2 separate regions of the Homo sapiens genome follow, and region 2 is linked to region 1. The links are contacts of gene promoters, found by promoter capture Hi-C in blood cells and fetal thymus (Javierre and others, 2016). All regions are on one chromosome and are shown on one strand. Each heading gives the region's core, a stretch centred on a gene start or on the middle of the fragment in contact. The rest is flanking DNA. Distances are from core to core; before and after follow the strand shown. Region 1 holds the start of PAK2 (p21 (RAC1) activated kinase 2). Region 2 holds the start of RUBCN (rubicon autophagy regulator).

The links. Contacts are between HindIII fragments. The CHiCAGO score rates a contact against its expected background, and 5 or more counts as called.
Region 2: the fragment with the promoter of RUBCN here is called in contact with the fragment with the promoter of PAK2 in region 1 in 2 of 17 cell types (M0 macrophages and total B cells); the score reaches 7.1 in M0 macrophages.

What each region holds. Positions count from the first base shown.
Region 1 is chr3:196,735,887-196,741,350 of GRCh38, reverse strand. It overlaps PAK2 (p21 (RAC1) activated kinase 2), which reads right to left and starts at 1,494. Exons shown (of 15, transcript NM_002577.4): 1 at 1,194-1,494. It overlaps PIGX (phosphatidylinositol glycan anchor biosynthesis class X), which reads right to left. Exons shown (of 6, transcript NM_017861.4): 6 at 5,344-5,464. RefSeq lists a silencer at 914-1,703. The HindIII fragment of the contact is 10,729 bases long and covers 1-4,222 here.
Region 2 is chr3:197,734,150-197,739,562 of GRCh38, reverse strand. It overlaps RUBCN (rubicon autophagy regulator), which reads left to right and starts at 2,659. Exons shown (of 20, transcript NM_014687.4): 1 at 2,659-2,908. The coding sequence starts at 2,844. RefSeq lists silencers at 1-36, 2,396-2,945 and enhancers at 2,534-3,381, 4,312-4,361. The HindIII fragment of the contact is 5,208 bases long and covers 1-3,376 here.

The DNA of each region.
Region 1 (5,464 bases), core at 245-2,744:
AAAATTACTATTCACTGCCTTCATCCCAATGTAACTTTACTGAGTGTTATTCTATTGGACAACCCTACAAAAACAAAATCCCCAGAGCAAATTCTTGTACATTTCAATATCCTGCCTACTTATAAGAGCGGAAGAGTCGAACACAGCAGGGGAAAAAACGTGACGTGCACAACCTTGATCCAAAACACAGCTCTTCGTAGTTTAATTTTAGGCCTAACCATTTTGTCTTTTTATAAAGGTTAAAAAAGAAAACAAAGAAAGGACACATCGCCTGTAACGCAGAAGTGAGATAATGATATCAACCGGAGTTCGTTATTTATCAAGGGACAACAAATCACGCTCACACTGCCCAGGGAGAGTACTACTAAAATTAAGATACAAGGATGGGTACAACCTCACACCCACTGACGATGACACGCTTCTGTTCTTGGATGACTTATCTTTAAAGAATTAGTTAAAAGGTTGAGTGGCAACGTTTTGTGTTTGTGCGTGCGTGTGTTTCCAAGAGAGCCAAACATGGTGAAAAACCAATCTTAACTTCACCTAAGTTATCTAAAGAAGCAAATTTCACCCCTAGGCTGAAGCTCAAACAGGAGCGAGGAGAAGCTCCGAAAGATCAGTTCGTAAGCGGTGGCCCTCAAGCGCCCGGGACGCTCTACGTTTTTACCAATGTGGAATGTGGAAAAGAGGTTACAGGCTGGAGCTGAGAAAACAGTCAAGCTACTCGCGACAATATTCCTGAGCAGTGAAACGGGTGAACAGAGAGCGAGCAAGCAGGGGCTGAGAATCAGTGAGAGGAAAAATCAAGGAACAAAACCGGAGAGTCTGGTCCAGCATTAAGAAAACGGAGCAAAGGAAGAGGGTGAAACGCGAGGGGAGGGAAGACCGAGAGTCGGCAGAGACCGTGGTGCCGCGAGGTTCAGAGCAGGGCTGGGTCCAGGAAGAGTCAGACCTCCGCAGCCCAGCGAGCTTCCCATTTCTGGCTAAAGCCAGCGAAGAAAACGGCCCTGGGGAGCAGACAATGAGCCACCGCCCCAGGAGCTGCGGCTCCCAGCACGCAGGTGGCGGCTCCCCGGCCCCGCGCGGGGCAGGTCGGCCGTCCCGGGCCGCTCCCGCCCGCCAGGCCACGGAGAAGGAAGGAGGAGGAAGAGACCCGGCCTGCGTCCCGCGCCGGCCGGCCTGTGTGCACTTACCCCGGGCAAGGCAAGGTCCCCGCCCCAGCGAGGCGCCTCGGTCAGAGCTCCCGGCGGGCTGCGGAGCCGCCCCGGGCTAGCGCGCGGTGCGGGGAGGGGAGGGGAGGGAAGGGGAAGCGGGGCGGGAAGAGACGCCGCGCTGGAGCAGCCGCTGCTACCGCTAGGCCCAGCGGCGGCGGAGTCCTGCGCACGCCAGGGAGGGGAGGGGAGGGAGCCTTCGGCAATGGCGACGGCCCGGGCCGGAGGGGAAGCGGAACAACCGCCGCCGCTGCGCGTGGCCACAACCCTGGGGGAGGAAGACGGCGGGGAGCGGGGCGGGGCGGGGCCAGAACCCAGAACCCCTCCCGCCCCGAAGCCGGAGCTCCCCGGGGCGGAGACGAGCGCCACCTCCCATGGGCAGGCCCGCGCGGGGGCCGCTGGGAGTAGTAGTTCGGTGATAGACGTTGCTTTTATTCCTTGGGTAGTCTTTGTATTGAGAGGAGCAGCCAGTCCCTCATTTAATTCAGCATTGTCTCCAAGCAGGTCTCTGCCGACGGAAGACGCTGACAGACGATTGCTGTTATACACATCTGCTCCGCGACATTTGTTTCTGGGAATTCATCCGTTATCCATTTTGCTTTTTTGCTTACAAATTCTTAACTAAAATTTTGCTGCTAAATTAAGTATCACCTCCTTGCAAATTAAGACTTCCCTATTTTATCCACGGAGGAGTTCATCAATGTTTCACTTATTCTACAAATATTTGAGTGTCTGATATGGACTAGACACTGTTAAGCATCAGAAATACAAGGGTGGTTCAGGTGCGGTGGCTCACGCCTGTAATCCCAGCACTTTGGGAGGCTGAGGCAGGCGGATCACCTGAGGTCGGGAGTTCGAGACCAGCCTGGCCAACACGATGAAACCCCGTTTCTACTAAAAATACAAAAATTAGCTGGGCATGGTGGCACGCATCTGTAGTCCCAGCTACTCGGGAGACTAAGGCAGGAGAATCGCTTGAACCCAGGAGGAGGAGGCTGCAGTGAGCCAAGATCGGGCCACTGCACTTCAGCGTGACAGAGTCGTCATGCCTCAAAAACAAAACAAAAAACACAAAAGAAATGCAAGGGTGAACACGATTCACCAAGCCTTTGTGGAGCTTATATGAGGACGCAGTAATTAAAGTAGTCACACCTGGTATAAGAAAAAACTTGGCGAGGTTACTTTGGATAGGGTGGTCGGAGAAGGCCTCGTTAAGGAGGTGACACTTAAGGCAAGAACAGAAAGAGACAGCAATAAGAAGCACCCAGAGAAAAGCAATACAGGCAGGAGAAGAAAGAAAAGGGCTTGCTACGGTCAGTTAAGAAGGCCTGTGTAGCTGGGGCCTAGAACAAGAAGGCGGTACTATTAAGAAAACACTACAGCAGACAAGATTCAGGTCATGAAAGATCCTGAATGCCATGGTAAAAAGTCTATATTACAAAAAACCATTAAAAGGCTTTTTTAAGCAGGAAAGCGATGTTACCTGGCTTACACTTTAAGATCACTAGACTGCAATGTGGATAATGGAGTATAGAGATGCAAGAATAGAAGGGAAATAAAGTAGGAAGGCAGTGGAAAGAAAGAGGAATTGTGCTTCTCTATCAATGTAGAGCAAAAAACTCAATTGATGCAGTGGGTACAGGAGAGAAAGGAATCAAGGAGCAACATGGCACAGTAAGAGATAACCTGAAAAATGCTCTGATTATTAAACACACAGAAACACTGGATAAATAAGACATCCTTTCAAAGGCATAACTTGCAAGAATGAAAATAGAATGTTTCTGACAGTCTTCCAAATTTCACACTCAACCTGAAGAAGGGGCAGGACACCAGAGTGGTAAGCAGGGCAGTGAAGCCATGGTTGTGTTGAGGGCACCTACTTATCTCAGAAATCTCTAGAGTTTTAATAGGTGCACAGGAAACTAAAGACAAGGACTTGGGCCTATACAAGAAGTCAGGACTGTGATCCTGCATAGGACTGGAAATTCAAGGCGCTATACCCTCCAAGAACAGACTGGGGGGAAAAAAAACCCTATGCTAGCCCAGGGAGACACACAGGACATTTGTTTACTTTGGCCTGCAGTGGGCTTGCAGGGCAGAAGAAAATTTTCCCTTTAGAATTAATAACCCTTTAGAATTTTCCCTCACTAAGGTTTTAAAGTTCAAATTTGTCAAGAAAGTGGTCCCAGGCTGGAGTTCTGGGGGGCCTGGAAGAAACAAATACAAATCCTGACTGCACAGGTGTACCCTCAACCTCGGTCTCAAAGGATTTCACAGATAAACAGGATTTCCGAAGCCAAACATGAGCACCCGAAATACAATACACCTGAGGAAATAAGCAGCGATGAGTGAGTCAATAGAAACTACAAAGAACATAATGAAACCCACACAGACTTTAGCTGCTGGAATTGATGGCTACAGAATATACAGTACGCCTATTTAAATGATTAAAGAAAGTAAGACAGGAGCTAGAAAACACGAGCAAGAAACAAGATGCTTTTTTTTTTTAACGACCAAACAGCTTTGAAAATGAAATAAGTAGGCCAGGCGCGGTGGCTCACACCTGTAATCCCAGCAGTTTGGGAGGCCGAGGTGGGCAGATCACCCGAGGTCAGGAGTTCGAGACCAGCCTGGCCAACATGGTGAAACCCCAGTCTCTACTAAAAATGCAAAAATTAGCCAGGCGTGGTGGTGGGCACCTGTAGTCCCACCTACTCAGGAGGCTGAGGCAGGAGAATCACTTGAACCTGGGAGGTGGAGGTTGCAGTAAGCCAAGAACATGCCATTGCACTCCAGCCTGGGCAACAAGAGCAAAACTCCGTCTCAAAACAAAAACAACAACAACAAAAGAATTAAGTAGAATTTCTAGAAACAAAGAATAACTGAAACCAAAGCCAATGTTTGGTTAAATAGCAGATTACACACAATTGAAGAGAAAATTAGTAAACTGGAAGACAGACCAAAAGAAATTACTGAGAACAGCCTAGAGACAGGAAAAATGAAAGCAAGCTTAAGAGACATGGGGATAGATTGTTAAGGTCTCTACCATACTCCTAATGAGAATTCCAGGAGAGAAAAGAGAAAAACCAAGAGAGGCAGATAATGATGAGATAATGGCTGAAAAATTTCCAGAATTGATTAAAGACAGGAATCTTCAGATTCAGGAAGCAAACTGAATACCAAGCAGGATAAGTAAAGAAATTTCAAACACATGAAAATGAAACCGCAGAATACCAGAGATAAAGCAACCAGAGAGAAAAGACATTCTGTACAAACAACTATTACATTCATAGCAGATTTCACAACAGCAAAACGGGTGCCAGTCAATAATGGTATATTTTCAAAGTACCAAGAGAAAATAACCAAGCTTAGAAGTGTACAGCTACCGGCTGGGCACAGTGGCTCACACCTGTAATCCCAGCACTTTAGGAGGCTGAGGTGGGCAGATCACCTGAGATCAGGAGTTCAAGACCAGCCTGGCCAACAACGGCAAAACCCTGTCTCTGCTAAAAATATAAAAAATAGCAGGGTGTGGTGGTGTGCGCCTGTAGTCCCAGCTACTTGGTAGGCTGAGGCAGGAGAATCACTTGAACCCAGGAAGCAGAGGTTGCAGTGAGCAGGGATCACACCACTGCACTCCAGCCTGGACGACAGAGCAAGACTCTGTCTCAAAAAAAAAAAAAAAAAAAAAAGTGTACAACTACCTAAATTATCCATCAGATGAGTGAGGATGAAATAAATATATCATCAAACATAAACAAGCTACCAACAGAGACACACTAAAGGAACTCCTTAAAAGGTATATTTCTTTCTTTTTCTTTCCCTTTTTTTTTTTTTTTTGTGACGGAGTCTCACTCTGTCGCCCAGGCTGGGGTGCAGTGGTACGATCTCGGCTCACTGCAACCTCTGCCTCCCGGGTTCAAGTGATTCTCCTGCCTCGGCCTCCCGAGTAGCTGGGATTACAGCCGCATGCCACCACTCCCGGCTAATTTTTTGTATTTTTAGTAGAGATGGGGTTTCACCATGTTGGCCATGTTTACAAGATAATACAAACAAAACCAGAAATGTTCTGTTATACTAAAAGTGATGTCATCTGCAACCATTTATCTAAGCAAGAAGAGTTATATCAAAGTTTTCTTCATTCACATTTTTATTACACTTCTGAATATTTGTATAAGTGAGTAAATGGCTGAACCACATTCCAAGCCACAATCTTAAATATTTTAAATACTGATGAAACCTGGTTGTGATGA
Region 2 (5,413 bases), core at 1,410-3,909, 1.0 Mb before region 1:
CACCACGCCCGGCTAATTTTTTGTTGTATTTTTAGTAGAGACGGGGTTTCACCGTGTCAGCCAGGATAGTCTCCATCTCCTGACCTCGTGATCTGCCCGCCTTGACCTCCCAAAGTGCTGGGATTACAGGCATGAGCCACCACGCCCGGCCTTTTTTTTTTTTTCTTTTTTCAGACGAAGTCTTGCTCTTATCGCCCAGGCTGGAGTGCAGTAGCACGATCTCGGCTCACTGCAAGCCCTGCCTCCTGGGTTCAAGCCATTCTCCTGCCTCAGCCTCCTGAGTAGCTGGGATTACAGGCGTCTGCCACCATGCCCGGCTAATTTTTTTGTATTTTTTAGTACGCCTGTAATCCCAGCACTTTGGGAGGCCGAAGCCGGCGGATCACCTGAGGTCGGGAGTTCAAGACCGGCCTGACCAACATGGAGAAACCTTGTCCCTACTAAAAAATACAAAATTAGCCGGGCGTGGTGGCGGATGCCTGTAATCCCAGCTGCTCAGGAGGCTGAGGCAGGAGAATCGCTTGAACCCGATCGCGCCATTGCACTCCAGTCTAGCCAACAAGAGTGAAACTCTGTCTCAAAAATAAATAAATAAATAATATAGTGTTAATTTGGGATTATACTGTATGCCAAAAAATAAAGTTCATACATTTATAGAACTAGAAGTAAGGCCAGGTATGGTGCCTCATGCCTGTAATCCCAATACTTTTTGGGTGACTGAGGCAGGAGGACTGCTTGAGCCCAGGAATTTGAGACCAGCTTAGGCAGCACAGTGAGACCCTGTCTCTACCAAAAATTAAAAAAAAAAAAACAAATTAGCTGGGCATAGTGGCACTGCCTGTGGTCCCAGCTACTTGGGAAGCTGAGGTGAGAGGATCCGCTTGAGGAGGTTGAGGCTGCAGTGAACTGTGGCAGCGCTACTGCACCCCAGCCTGGGTGACAGAGCAAGACTGCGTCTCCAAAAGAGAAGAAAGTCACAGAAGGAAGAGAAATCCCAATGAGTAATATTGCCCCTTTCTTAAAGAAGTATAATCGTTTAGTAGGAAAATGAGAAAGTTTGAAAGAGAGTATTTTTTTAACCTAAATGAAATCATAAATGGCTTCAAGAGGCTCTTTCATTTCATTTTTAATTGCCAAAACACTTTTGTCAAGTTTGAAAATACCTAAAAGCCATATATTATTTTAATATAGAGTCATTAGTTTTTCACGGAGTTATTCTTGATCGCTCTTTCTCCCTCACTTGCCACAGTCAGTCCTTTATAGAGTAGTGCTGATTCTGTTGCCTTCACATTGCTGTAATCTGAGCCTCCTTGTTCTCTTCAACCGCTGCTGTAGTTTAAGCCTGGGTTTGCAAACTAGCAACTCAAGGGCCACCTTCAGCCTACAGACAAGCTGTGTTTGGCCTGTGCAAAGTTGAAAGTTTAAAAAATTTGTTGCCAACGTTTAAAAATTTGGAAGTAGTGCTTAAAAATGCAGATCCTAGCTTCTTTTAAAAAATCAAAATATCATAGCTAGGTGTGGTGGCTCGCACCTGTAGTCCCAGCTATTCAGGAGGCTGAGGAAGGAGGACTGCTTGAGCCCAGGAGTTCCAGGCTGCAGGGAGCTATGATTGCGCCACTGCACCCCAGCCTGGGCGACAGAGAGAGACCCCGTCTTTGAAAAAGAAAAAAGAGAAACCAGAGTATCTGGCAACCCTAGGCCCACGTTTCTTTCAACTGGTTCGCTTCACTTCTTAGCATTACTTGGTTATCCCCCATAAGGATGACCAGTCTCCTATCTAGCCTTCCACCGTTACCTCAATATAGTATTATATCTGCCCCATCTCCTGTCCACATTGTCAAAAGTGGCTTTCTCATCAGATTCGATCAAATCACTTCTTGATTTGCATATGCTTGATTTGCTGATTGTTTTCAGGATAAAATCCAAACTCCTTAAAATGGCATTTCATGATCTGGTTTCCCCACACCAGAATGCCCACACCATGCTGCTGCTCACTCCTTCCCAGCTCTGGCTACCCAGCACCTGCAGTTCCCAAGCCAGCACTTCCTTCCTTGTATCTGCCGTGTTGCTCTCTCCACCTTCTCTTCTTTCTCCTGGCTAACCCGTACTCAGCCTTGAAAACTCTGCGTTGACATCCATCTTCCGAGAGCCCCCAGAAGCCTTTCTCTCCTGCTCTTTTATGATCCCAAAGCAACCTGTGCTCTTGTTTGTGAGCGCTTCATTTAAATGCTCGAGGTCTCCAAACACCACCAGCGGACATTAAGCCAGGGCGGGCTGAGTGGGGTTAATCGTACCGGGATTAGATTAGCGTTATTGCCTAGTCTACATCTCGGACTGAGTTCGGTCCCCAGCGTGTAATGTCACGGGGGTGAATAAGGATACGCCCCGGCACGGATTCCTGAGACCAAGGTCCCCCGCCGCTTGCAAGCCGGCCCAGCCAACCACCGGGTGCGTAGTAATCCACGAGCGCGGCCTGGGATTGGAGGGCGCGGCCTGCGGGAGCGGCCTGGGATTGGAGGGCGCGGCTTGCGGGAGCGGCCTGCCGTTGGAGGGGCGCGGTCTGCGAGCGCGGCCTGGGATTGGAGGACGCGTCCTGCGGGAGCGGCCTAGCCTCGGAGTGCTCGCCGGGGGCTGTAGTCCCCGGAGCCGGAAGTGGGGGTGGCCGGGATAGAAGCCGCAGCCCAGGCGGCGGTCCCTCCCGCTGTCGCCGCCCGGGTGTAGCGCATCACCCGGAGCCCACCGGCCGCAGGTGCCTCCTCCGGCCCCAGGGGGCCCCGGGAGCCCTGAAGGGCGAAGCGGCAGGGACGCCTCTCTTGGGCGAAGAGGCGGCCTCACCGCCCCGGATGCGGCCGGAGGGCGCGGGAATGGAGCTCGGAGGCGGCGAGGAGCGCCTGCCTGAGGAGAGCAGGTGGGCTGGGAGCCGCCGCGGAGTCGGGGCAGCGACAGGCGCCGGAGCCCCGGGAGGCTTGGGAGGGCGCGGGGTCACGGAGAGAAGGGCCGGGCGCGACGAGTCTTGAGGACGACGGCTGCGGAGGACTTGTTTGGGAAGCATTTCGCAGAGGAAGGACGGGCGGGGCGGGGATGGGACGAAGGAACCGGCTTAGGGTGAGGAGGGTGGGTGGGATTTGCGGAGGGCAAGGGCAGCAGAGGAGGGTGAAGCTCAGATCCAAGACTGCTGGAGAGGAGGTGGCAGCTGAGAGACTGGGCGAAGAGGCCAGAGGGGTGCAGTGAGGTTTTACAGGCCAGAGTCTATAGACAGGGGCAGGGCACCACCCGGACTGAAACTTGCCGTGACAGCAAGTGGGGCCAACGCGAAGAGGATGTGAGAATTCCTGGGAGCAGAGGTGAAGCGTTATGAGTGGCCTCGGAAGAAGCTTAGGCAGAGATGAGCATGGGGATGAAGGCGAGGAGAGCCTGGGGAGAAAGTGAGCGAGTGTCATGGCAGTGCGGTGGGGCGGGGACTGCTAATGAGACCAGAAACTCTGCACTTTGTCATTGCCGAATCCCTGTCAGAGAGTGGCAGGACCTCTGTGCCATTTCCTTTTCGTCTTCAAACCTGTCCCTTTTTCCTCACAATGCAAACTAAGCAAGTTCACATTTATTTATATGGAACCATGTCAGAAAGCTCATATCTTCTAGAAATTGGGGGATTTAAAATATAAAAACTACTTTGGACCGGGTGCGGTGCCTCACACCTGTAATTCCAGCACCTTGGGGGAGGCTGAGGCGGGTCGCTTGAGTCCAGGAGTTTGAGACCAGCCTGGGTAACCTAGGGAGATCCCCGTCTCTACAAAAATACAAAAATTAGCTCGGCGTGGTGGTGCTCACCTGTGGTGCCAGCTACTCGGGAGGCTGAGGCGAGAGGATCACTTGAGTCCAATAAGTCGAGGCTGCATTGAGCCGAGATCGCACCACTACACTCCAGCCTGGGTGACAGAGGAAGACCCTGTCTTCAAAAAACAAAAAGCCAAAGAAACCCCGAACTACTTTGACTAAATGATGAATCGGAGTCTGTAGAGATGCCTTCCATATTTAGGGTTTGCTTCATTAATAACTCTGGTCTTAATCTTTTTTAAAGAGGCTGGAATGCTGACAGGCGAGAGCAGGAATGTGGCTTAAGGGAGTCATACTTGACATTTATTATTTTATTTTTATTTTATTTTTTGAGACACAGCCTCACCCTGTCCCCCAGGCTGAGCGCAGTGCCGTGAACACGGCTCACTGCAGCCTCCAACTCTTGGGCTCAAGCGATTATACTAGCTCAGCTTCCCAAGTAGCTGGGGATATAGGTGCCAGCTACCACATCTGGCTACTTTAAAAAACTTTTTTGTAGAGACAGGGTCTCACCATATTGCCCAGGCTGGTCTCTAACTCCTGGGCTCAAGCAATTCTCCCCCGCCACGTCGGCCTCCCAAAGTGCTGGAATTAACAGGTGTGAGCCACCAGGCCTGACCTCACTTGACATTTAGAAACAGTTTCAGATATAATGATGGTCTCAGGAGCAGCTGGGATCCAAAAACTAGAAGCAGAATATTTACCTCTGAGAAAATATCAACAAGGGAAGATTTATGAGATGTTCCTGGGTGAAGACTTGCTATTTTTAAGGGTGACTCTACTTTTATGTGCAAAGTGGCCTGTTGAACAAAACCTGGACTGACAGGACTTTGGGGCTCCTGCCTGAGATCTGAGAATGATTTGTGCTAAGTGAAACTGAACATCTTACTTCCCTTTTCCATGTTTCAGTTTCTGCTTTGCCTATTTGACTATTTATTCTTCCTGCAGATGTCTGTGACGTGCTTCGTGTGAAAGGTCCCATGTAAATTCTAAACACGTTTTAGGATTGTTTTGATTTCCCTCTACCACTTCATGTGAGGGAGGCTGGGTTAGTTATTTTTTTAATGTATGTAACAAATGCTATTTACCACATGCCAGGAATTGTTTTAAGGTATTAAGATATGAATACTGCGTTAACTTCTTTAATCCCTATAACTATTGTATGTGGTCGGTACTACTGTTATTGCTGTGTCACAGATGAGAAAGCTGAGAAATGGACAGGGTAAGTAACTTGCCAAGGTTGTACAGCGAATCCCTGGCAGAACTGGATTCAAACCCAGGCAGTTCGGCACCAGAGTCTGCGCTTTTTTTTTTTTTTCTTTTTTTAGACAGGGTCTCACTATGTTGCCTAGGCTGGTCTCAAACTCCTGGGCTCAAGATATTCTCCAGCCTCGGCCTCTCAAAAGTGCTGAGGTTACAGGCATGAGCGACCATGCCGGCCCAAGAGACTGCACTTTTTTTTTTTTTTTTTTGAGATAGAGTCTTGCTCTGTCGCCAAGGCTGGAGTGCAGTGGCACCGTCTTGCTTCACTACAACCTCTGCCTCCCAGGTTCAAACAATTCTCCTGCCTCAGCCTCCC